Linked DNA regions of Homo sapiens: region 1 is linked to region 2. The links are contacts of gene promoters, found by promoter capture Hi-C in human tissues and cell types (Jung and others, 2019). All regions are on one chromosome and are shown on one strand. The core of a region is centred on a gene start or on the middle of the fragment in contact, and the rest is flanking DNA. Distances in the headings are between cores, read along the strand shown.

Region 1 (3,678 bases), core at 1,022-3,521, 160 kb after region 2:
ATAAGACCAAAAGAAAAGGAGGAAATGCATCTGAGTACAAACAGGCAAATGACCCTCATACCTCTTTCACACCTTCTCACCAACACACATACTCTCTCTCTCTCTCTCTCTCTCTCCCTCCTGGTTGTTTCTGTTCCCTTCAGGTTCACAGAGATGTCTGTCTCAATTTTTCTTAATTTGGTTCCACCATTTTTTTTTGTTATCCAAAAAGAGATTTCTTTTTTATAACCACTGTATTCAGAGTGGAGTAGGGGTGGAGGAATACTTTCAAAGTATGAAATCACAACATGGGCTTGACTAAAAGATATCACATTATCTCTCTAGCCCTGGAGTTTCACTTTGTAGATTTTTGTTTTTTTTTTTTCTTAGGCACGATTGCTGAGTGAAAGGGCATTGGCTCTCAGTACAATCACATCTGGATCTCCGTTTCAGCTTCACATGAATAGTGTGATTAATTTTGGATAAGCTACTTAGCAATTTTCCTTATCTGTAAAATTGGAATAATTGATACTGACCTTAAGATTTCTTTAATGATTGAATAAAAAAGAATATCTAAATTGCCATTTTCTGTGTCAGGTATTCAGTGGGTTCTTGACATATGGTTATTACTATAATGTTATTACATTATTATTGTCCTAGTTAAGTGAAAGTATTACTAACCTTGATTTGTGTTTTCTGATATGTGACTTTATGTTATATTTATGTTATGTATTTTCTGATGTGAAACTTTTACCTTGTTTGACCAGGAAGCACTGATTAGTAGGACTCACAGTAGAATAAGCCATAACTAGTCATGTATCAAGCATAATGTGGTTCTTTGGTTTTGAGTGTAATGGATGTGCTTAGGAATTAGTAAGGTGCCTATACATATCATGATTTTATCAATTGAAAGAATATATCTTGCAACATGTTAGCACAGTCAGCAAAAGTAAAACCAGAAACAGTTATAAGAGAAAAAGCAGGTTTGTTCAAAGTATATTTTAATGTAGATAAATTCCCCAAATCAAAGATTGGAATTGTAGTGCATAACATTTCATAACTCTAAGGACCCTCTTTGTTGAATTAAAATGTTAATATTTTAATATTTTAAAGGCCTTTTGCAAATATTTAACTAACACATTCATATTTTATAGCCTTTGAGCACTAAAATTTGGTGAGATTTTTTTTTTTACTCTCCAAATGTTGACTAATGCTGGCATACGCAATCTAAAGGGATTAATAGTTTTCATATACATCTCCCTTGTCTTTCATTTTAAAACCTCATCAAAAAGTTTCAGCCTCTTTTTGTTACTTTTCAAGAACAGCTCAGTTGATACTTTGACCCATGTTGCTCAATTATTCTTCTTCAGAGGGTGTCTACTTAAATGGATTGGTTTTACATAAAAAGGATTTGACTACATTCGATATTAAAATAAACATCAATTAACATACTTGTTGGGTTTTTATGCTGCCAAATCATTGGTTAGACTGACTGCTTCCCTTTCCAAGCTTGTTTTGGCATTGTCAAAACTATGTCTGAGCTACCCAGACTCTTTCCTAACTTCAGAACCCAAGTGCTTGGTTCTAATACCAGGAGGCGATGAATCATTATGGTTCCGTCAGACTTCATAGGGCCACATAAATGATGTAGAAGTTAGAAGCCTGTTTCATTGTCTAATCCCCAGCCTGTCCCATTTTATTGACATTTCCTATTTGATTAACAGCAAATTCTCACCATCTTTAACATTGCTAATGGAAATATTCCATACAAAGGCTGAATTTGTACTATGTGGTAACTTTCTGTTGTTTCCAACATGAGCAGTCTTCTATGACTAAAAAATGTTCTGAAGGGCTGAAATTTCTACCAATGCACATATAAATAATTATGGTGGTTGCAAGTATGTTCCTGGGCAATGAGAAATTCAATTTGTCCTTGTCAAAACAAAACAAAAGAACCAAACACAAATTGGTTGGAATGTTTGAGTTAGTGGAAAGCATTCATCAGAGATGTATTGGAGAGGGAGATAATCAGAAAATGGCTTAACTACATCAGTTTTGCATTGATCTGACTGTAATAAATGCCTTTTTGTGTAGCTATAAGAATGGTGGTAGTTGTCTTAAGGTCAAAATATCCACAGGGAGTTTGTTGAGAGTGGTAAGAAGAAACATCACAGAGAAGTGAAACAAAGGAAAATGATTGATGATGTATGAGGACTTCATTCTGTAAGAATAATCTAAAATTTTTAGTATTGTTTTCTGGATGTTTTAAAGTCTTTCTTTTATAAATCAGAGCTGTGTTTAGTACAATATGGATCCAAGTGTTGGACCCCACAATATTTGGTTCATTGTGTGAAATGCAACAAGTCTTAGTTGCTGTGTCAAAAACCACATAAGTACTTATTCTCAAGACATATTCTCAAAATACTGAGAAATCAACCCACATAAGAAGTGGTGAATGTAAAGATCTATCGACTTCAGAAAAGTCACTGTATTTCAAAAAATAAATTTCATCTTAGACAATCAATCACAAAGAATAACTGGAGATATAGTATGAATATAGTCAACAGCAATGGAGAACTATAGGAAATAGCTCATGTTTATTATACCAGGAAAACAAATTAAAATAATATGAGTGTGAAAAAATCAGAGGCTATACATTTTTTAACCTTAAGAAGGAATATCTTATGTTAATGACATATTAATAACTACAAAGTGGCTAAGCACCGTGGCTCATGCCTGTAATCCCAGCACTTTGGGAGGCCAAGGCAGGTGAATAACTTGAGCCCAGGAGTACAAGATATGCCTGGGCAACATGGTGAAACTGCATCTGTACAAAAAATACAAAAATTAGCAGGGTGTGGTGGTGTAAGCCTGTAGTCCCAGTTACTAGGGAGGCTGAGGCAGGAAAATAGCATGAGCCCAGGTTGAGGCTGCAGTGACCTGTGATTGTGCCATGGCAATCCAGCCTGGGCAACAGAGCCAGATCTTGTCTCAAAATAGTAAAAATAATAATAACCACAAAATATTGAGCATAGCATATATGTCACACATGGTGTTTTCTAAGCTATATTATGTTGTTATTTGATATAACCAAGCTAGGAAGAAATTAGTGGAAAAAATATAAGAAAAGAACAGATTGCATTCTTATAAATGATGGCCTATGTATTAGGGGATTCTATAAGAGGTAAATGTCATTGTTAGGCTGATCTGGAAAGTAATGAGAATATTTCTATAAGATACATGTGTGTACTGGTCTTATTCCTTTTTTTTCACTCATTTCTGAAATTAAGAAATAATCTTATACATAAATTCAATTCGTTGCAGGTAAAAGTATACCATTCAGAATAGAGAAGGAGAAGAAAAGATAGAAGGAAGTCACATTGTTCACCACACAAGGTTGTTGTGGAAATGTGAGGGAAGGGTCATTTATTATTGTTTTTATTTTGACTGGGCTCAGATTTTGTGCTCACTGAAAAGATACAATTGTGAGAACTTGCTCTAAAGTCCCAGCTGTTGATGGACAGGCATCCTCTCCCAAGGTAATAGGGAAGTTGTTTAAGCAACTCATATTTTTGGAAGAGGCAGTGTTTGTTGTAATTTGATCCTAACTGCAACCTATATCTCACCTGCATTCATCAATGCCAAGCCACAAAAATGCCTGGAAGGTCCAGAATGCTTGGAGCTTGTGCTCTGCATTAG
Region 2 (3,543 bases), core at 17-2,516:
TTCAACCCTCGGGCGGGGGACGTCCGGCAGCTCTGCAAACGCGCAGACACGCGAACCCCATCGCCTCGCGCGCCCTTTGGCTCCGCTGGTGCGTGTCGGGGATGCGGCCGCGCAGGCGCTCGCTCCCTGGCTTCCTGGCCGGGTAGCGGGCGTTCGGCTACCGGAGTCCAGCCTAAGGGCCCAGCCGAGGTCTCCCCGCGCGAGGCGGTTGCGCTAGGTGAGCGGGTACCGCGGCCGCGCCTCCCTTGTCATTTACTCAGCGGTCAGAGGCATCCTGCGTCTGGGAGTCCCAAGTGCCTTCGGCTGGGTGCCCCTGTCCGATCCTCAAAAGGAAAGCACAAATCCCGGGTGCGAGTCTAACCCAGGACCGAACTTTCCCGCGAACCTGAAGTTACCATGGGGCGGGAGCCACCTTAGCGCCGCGTCCGCCCGCCCCTCGCACCGGCTAGGATGCTGCGGAAGGCAGGGGCGCCGAGAGGCAAGGGTGAAAGACGCCGTCCATACCCCCAAAGCCCGAACCTGCATCTCCTCTGCGAGGCGCAGGGCGGGAGGACCGCTGCAGTTGGGAGCCGGCTCCGGACAGGCAAAGCGACCCGACAGGTGAACGCGGCGGGAGGGAGCAAACGCGTAAAAAACCCTGCACTTACTTCTTCGCTGGCGCCTTCCCCGGGAGGCGTTTTGGCTGCCGATGTATTCCATAAAGTTCAAAATGATAAAAAGCCAAGAAATCAGTCGCAAGTGCATAGTAACCCAGTAATGCTTCCCTTCCTTTCTCCTCTTTCTTTTGATTGTTAATTATATTTAATGTTTTTAAAATATATGTAGGTGTTAGGCGTATATAGACAGTGCCCGAGCAGCGGGACTTCTCCTCTCACATCCGATAGGCGTGCTGTGATGGCAAGCGAAGTGGGGCGGGTGGACAGGGAAACCAACTATTGTACTTTCAAATTATCCAAGCACTGAACTGCGGCGGCTTCGCTGGGGTGGCTGGCATCGCCGCGAACCGGGGTTCCAGGAGCCGCCGGGGCGGCCGCAGGTAGCATGTTGTGCGGCAACTGCCGCAGGCGGGATCCGGGCGGGCGAGCGGCGGCGGCGGCGGCTGCAGCGGCGGCCCCTTGGGCTCAGAAGCTGCGGCGGCTGCGGCTGCAGCGGCGGGGGCCCCTGGAGCGCAGGGGAGCGGGCGCCGTCGGCACAGCGGCCATGGCCAAGGGGCGGCGGAGAGACCCCGAGCTGCTTCTGGCGTGCGCGAGCAGGAGACGCTCCAGTGTTGGGCTGGGCTCCCGGGAGCACCACATAGGGGAGGAGGAGGAGGAGGGCAGGGAGGGGGGAGGGAGAGGAGGGCAGGGAGGGGGAGAGGAGGGGGGATGGCTGTGGGGGGCGGGGGGGAGCTCGGGGGCGGGGAAGGAAACTGCTGGAGCAACAACCCTGAGCGACCTCAATAACTTTCAATTTCAAGAGGGAAAGAGGGAGCTGGAAAAGTACAGGCGTTGCGCTTTGGCAGAGGGACGGGAAGAGGCGCCTAAGGGGTCCCGGGTCTACAGCGCAGCATCTCTGGACACTGCAGTGACGGCCGGAGAATTCCAGCCAGAAGAATGGGGAAAGCAGTGCGTGCGAAGAGCCCCTCCAGAAGGGCAGCTCTGGCGGGGAGACTTGGGCGCACTGGGGCTGGCAGGCAGTGTTGAGGCCGAAGACCCCCCACCCATCCCAGTTCGGCTCCTCTCCGCGGCCTCAAGCTAGGCGCACCCGGCTGTCGGTGGCCGTGCGCCCCTGCGCCCTTGTGCCCCAGCGCCCCCACCCCATCCCCAGCGCCGGCGCGCAACTACCCTCTCCCCCTTGGCAGATCGCTGGAGAGTTTCTGGCTGCTGACTTGTTCCCGGCTTTCCTGACCTTCTCCTCTGTTGCCTTTCTCCCTTTTTCTTTTTCTCTCTCTTTCTTTCTTTCTTTCTTTCTTTCTTTCTTTCTTTCTTTCTTTCTTTCTTTCTTTCTTTCTTTCTTTCTTTCTCTTTCTTTCTTTTCTTTCTTTCTTCCTTCCTCTTTCTTTGTCTTTCTTTCTTTCTTTCCTTCCTTCCTTCCTTCCTTCCTTCCTTCCTTCCTTCCTTCTTCTTTCTTTCTTTCTTTCCTTTCTTTCTTTCTTTTCGGCTGCAGTTGGTCGCCAGGCGGGTGGTGGGGAGGAAACTCTGTGGGTGCTGCCGGTCAGCTACTCTGAGGTTTACCTGCTCCGAGCGGGGAGGACCCAGAAGTGTGTGCGCTCAGGACCTTCCCGTTGGAAATGCAGCTGTGCTACGGCTTTCTTCCAAACCAAGGCTTTTCTGTGGCTTTGGAAGATTCCTTTCCCGCTCAGGCAATTCCCTCTATAGTCAGCTCGCCCCCCTTGGAGTTTTCTCTCCCACCCTCGGTCTCCCAGTGTTCTTGAGAGGATCTGTTGTACATTCTAATCTCGCATCTGGAAGACTGGGAATAAGATTTGGAAAGATTTTCCCAGTCTTGGGGAAGGAAGGGGAAGGTCCACTACTTTCTTATCTTCCCAGCCCAAGTGGAGGCCCAAGGCAGCAGAGAGTAAGATGCTCTGGCCCACCCAGGGATGGGAGAACAGAGGGCCGGCACCCCTGAGTGGGGCACACCCTGGCTGTCGTTAGTAAATGGTGAGCTTTCCACGTCTTTTCTCCGGTAGCACCAGCCGATGAACTTTTCAGTAATTACTGAAGAAGTATTTAGTCGAAAGTCACAAGCCTCAAGTGATTTTAACATAAGCCTGCCCTATGTATTATATTTAACAGAATATCTGAAGGACTACACTAGCACTACAGGTTAACACAGCAGCAAACTTCTGGGAGGTCACTTTGAAAGAGTCCCTGATTCATAGGTGCTTTGCTAATTTTTGTGCTCAAATAATTCAGTGTAAGTCAATTGCTAAAGCCTTGCAGAGTAGCAAGTGACACTTGCACTTCTATCTCCTTCCTCCATTTGTAATCCCTATTACTGGATTGCCTTCAATTTATGTAAATTAGGTAAATTTACATGAATTAGAGCATTTTGTAAGTTTGCAATGCTGTGAATTGTATGTCTCTGGAGTCCTTTAGTGGTATATTTGTTATACATCCCAAAAGTAGGATAGAGGCGATAAAGTGGCCTGGATGCAAAAGGAAGGGAACTTGAAATATGCATTATTTTCAAGATGCTAAAAATTAGAATCTGAGAGATGGCCTTTTGATGTTAATTCTTTAATTAAATATCATTTATTATTTTGCATGCTCGTGTTGGAATTTCGAAAGTAGGCATAGTCTCCTTTAGGTTTGATATTATGAGGAAGATGACACCTCAACAGGATTATGATTTTTGCCTTCTTTTTAAGAGCTCCCATTTACAACATCCCTCTTTCAGTGGTAGAACTTTTTCTGTACATTGTATGCACATGTGTGTGCACACCCCCACACACAGACTTTCCATCCTTTATCTGTTGCAAAGTGTCTACTTATAAATGACTGAGTTTATCACTTTGAACCAGCGAAGTTACAGATAACAAGACAATTCCAATAATGATTA

Evidence for each region. Contacts are between HindIII fragments. The study calls those that stand out against the background at their distance.
Region 1: a contact is called between a fragment that was not itself captured here and the fragment with the promoter of RSPO3 in region 2, in 1 of the 25 tissues and cell types used here (adrenal gland).

Annotation. Positions count from the first base shown.
Region 1 is chr6:126,955,764-126,959,441 of GRCh38, reverse strand. All of the region lies in intron 7 of LOC105377989 (a long non-coding RNA gene), which reads left to right. Among named protein-coding and RNA genes, the nearest start is that of RSPO3, 160 kb to the left of the region's middle. The HindIII fragment of the contact is 6,473 bases long and covers 1-3,678 here.
Region 2 is chr6:127,116,394-127,119,936 of GRCh38, reverse strand. It overlaps RSPO3 (R-spondin 3), which reads right to left and starts at 1,266. Exons shown (of 5, transcript NM_032784.5): 1 at 648-1,266. The coding sequence starts at 744. It overlaps LOC105377989 (a long non-coding RNA gene), which reads left to right. Exons shown (of 14, transcript XR_002956387.2): 4 at 1-1,036. The HindIII fragment of the contact is 6,946 bases long and covers 1-3,543 here.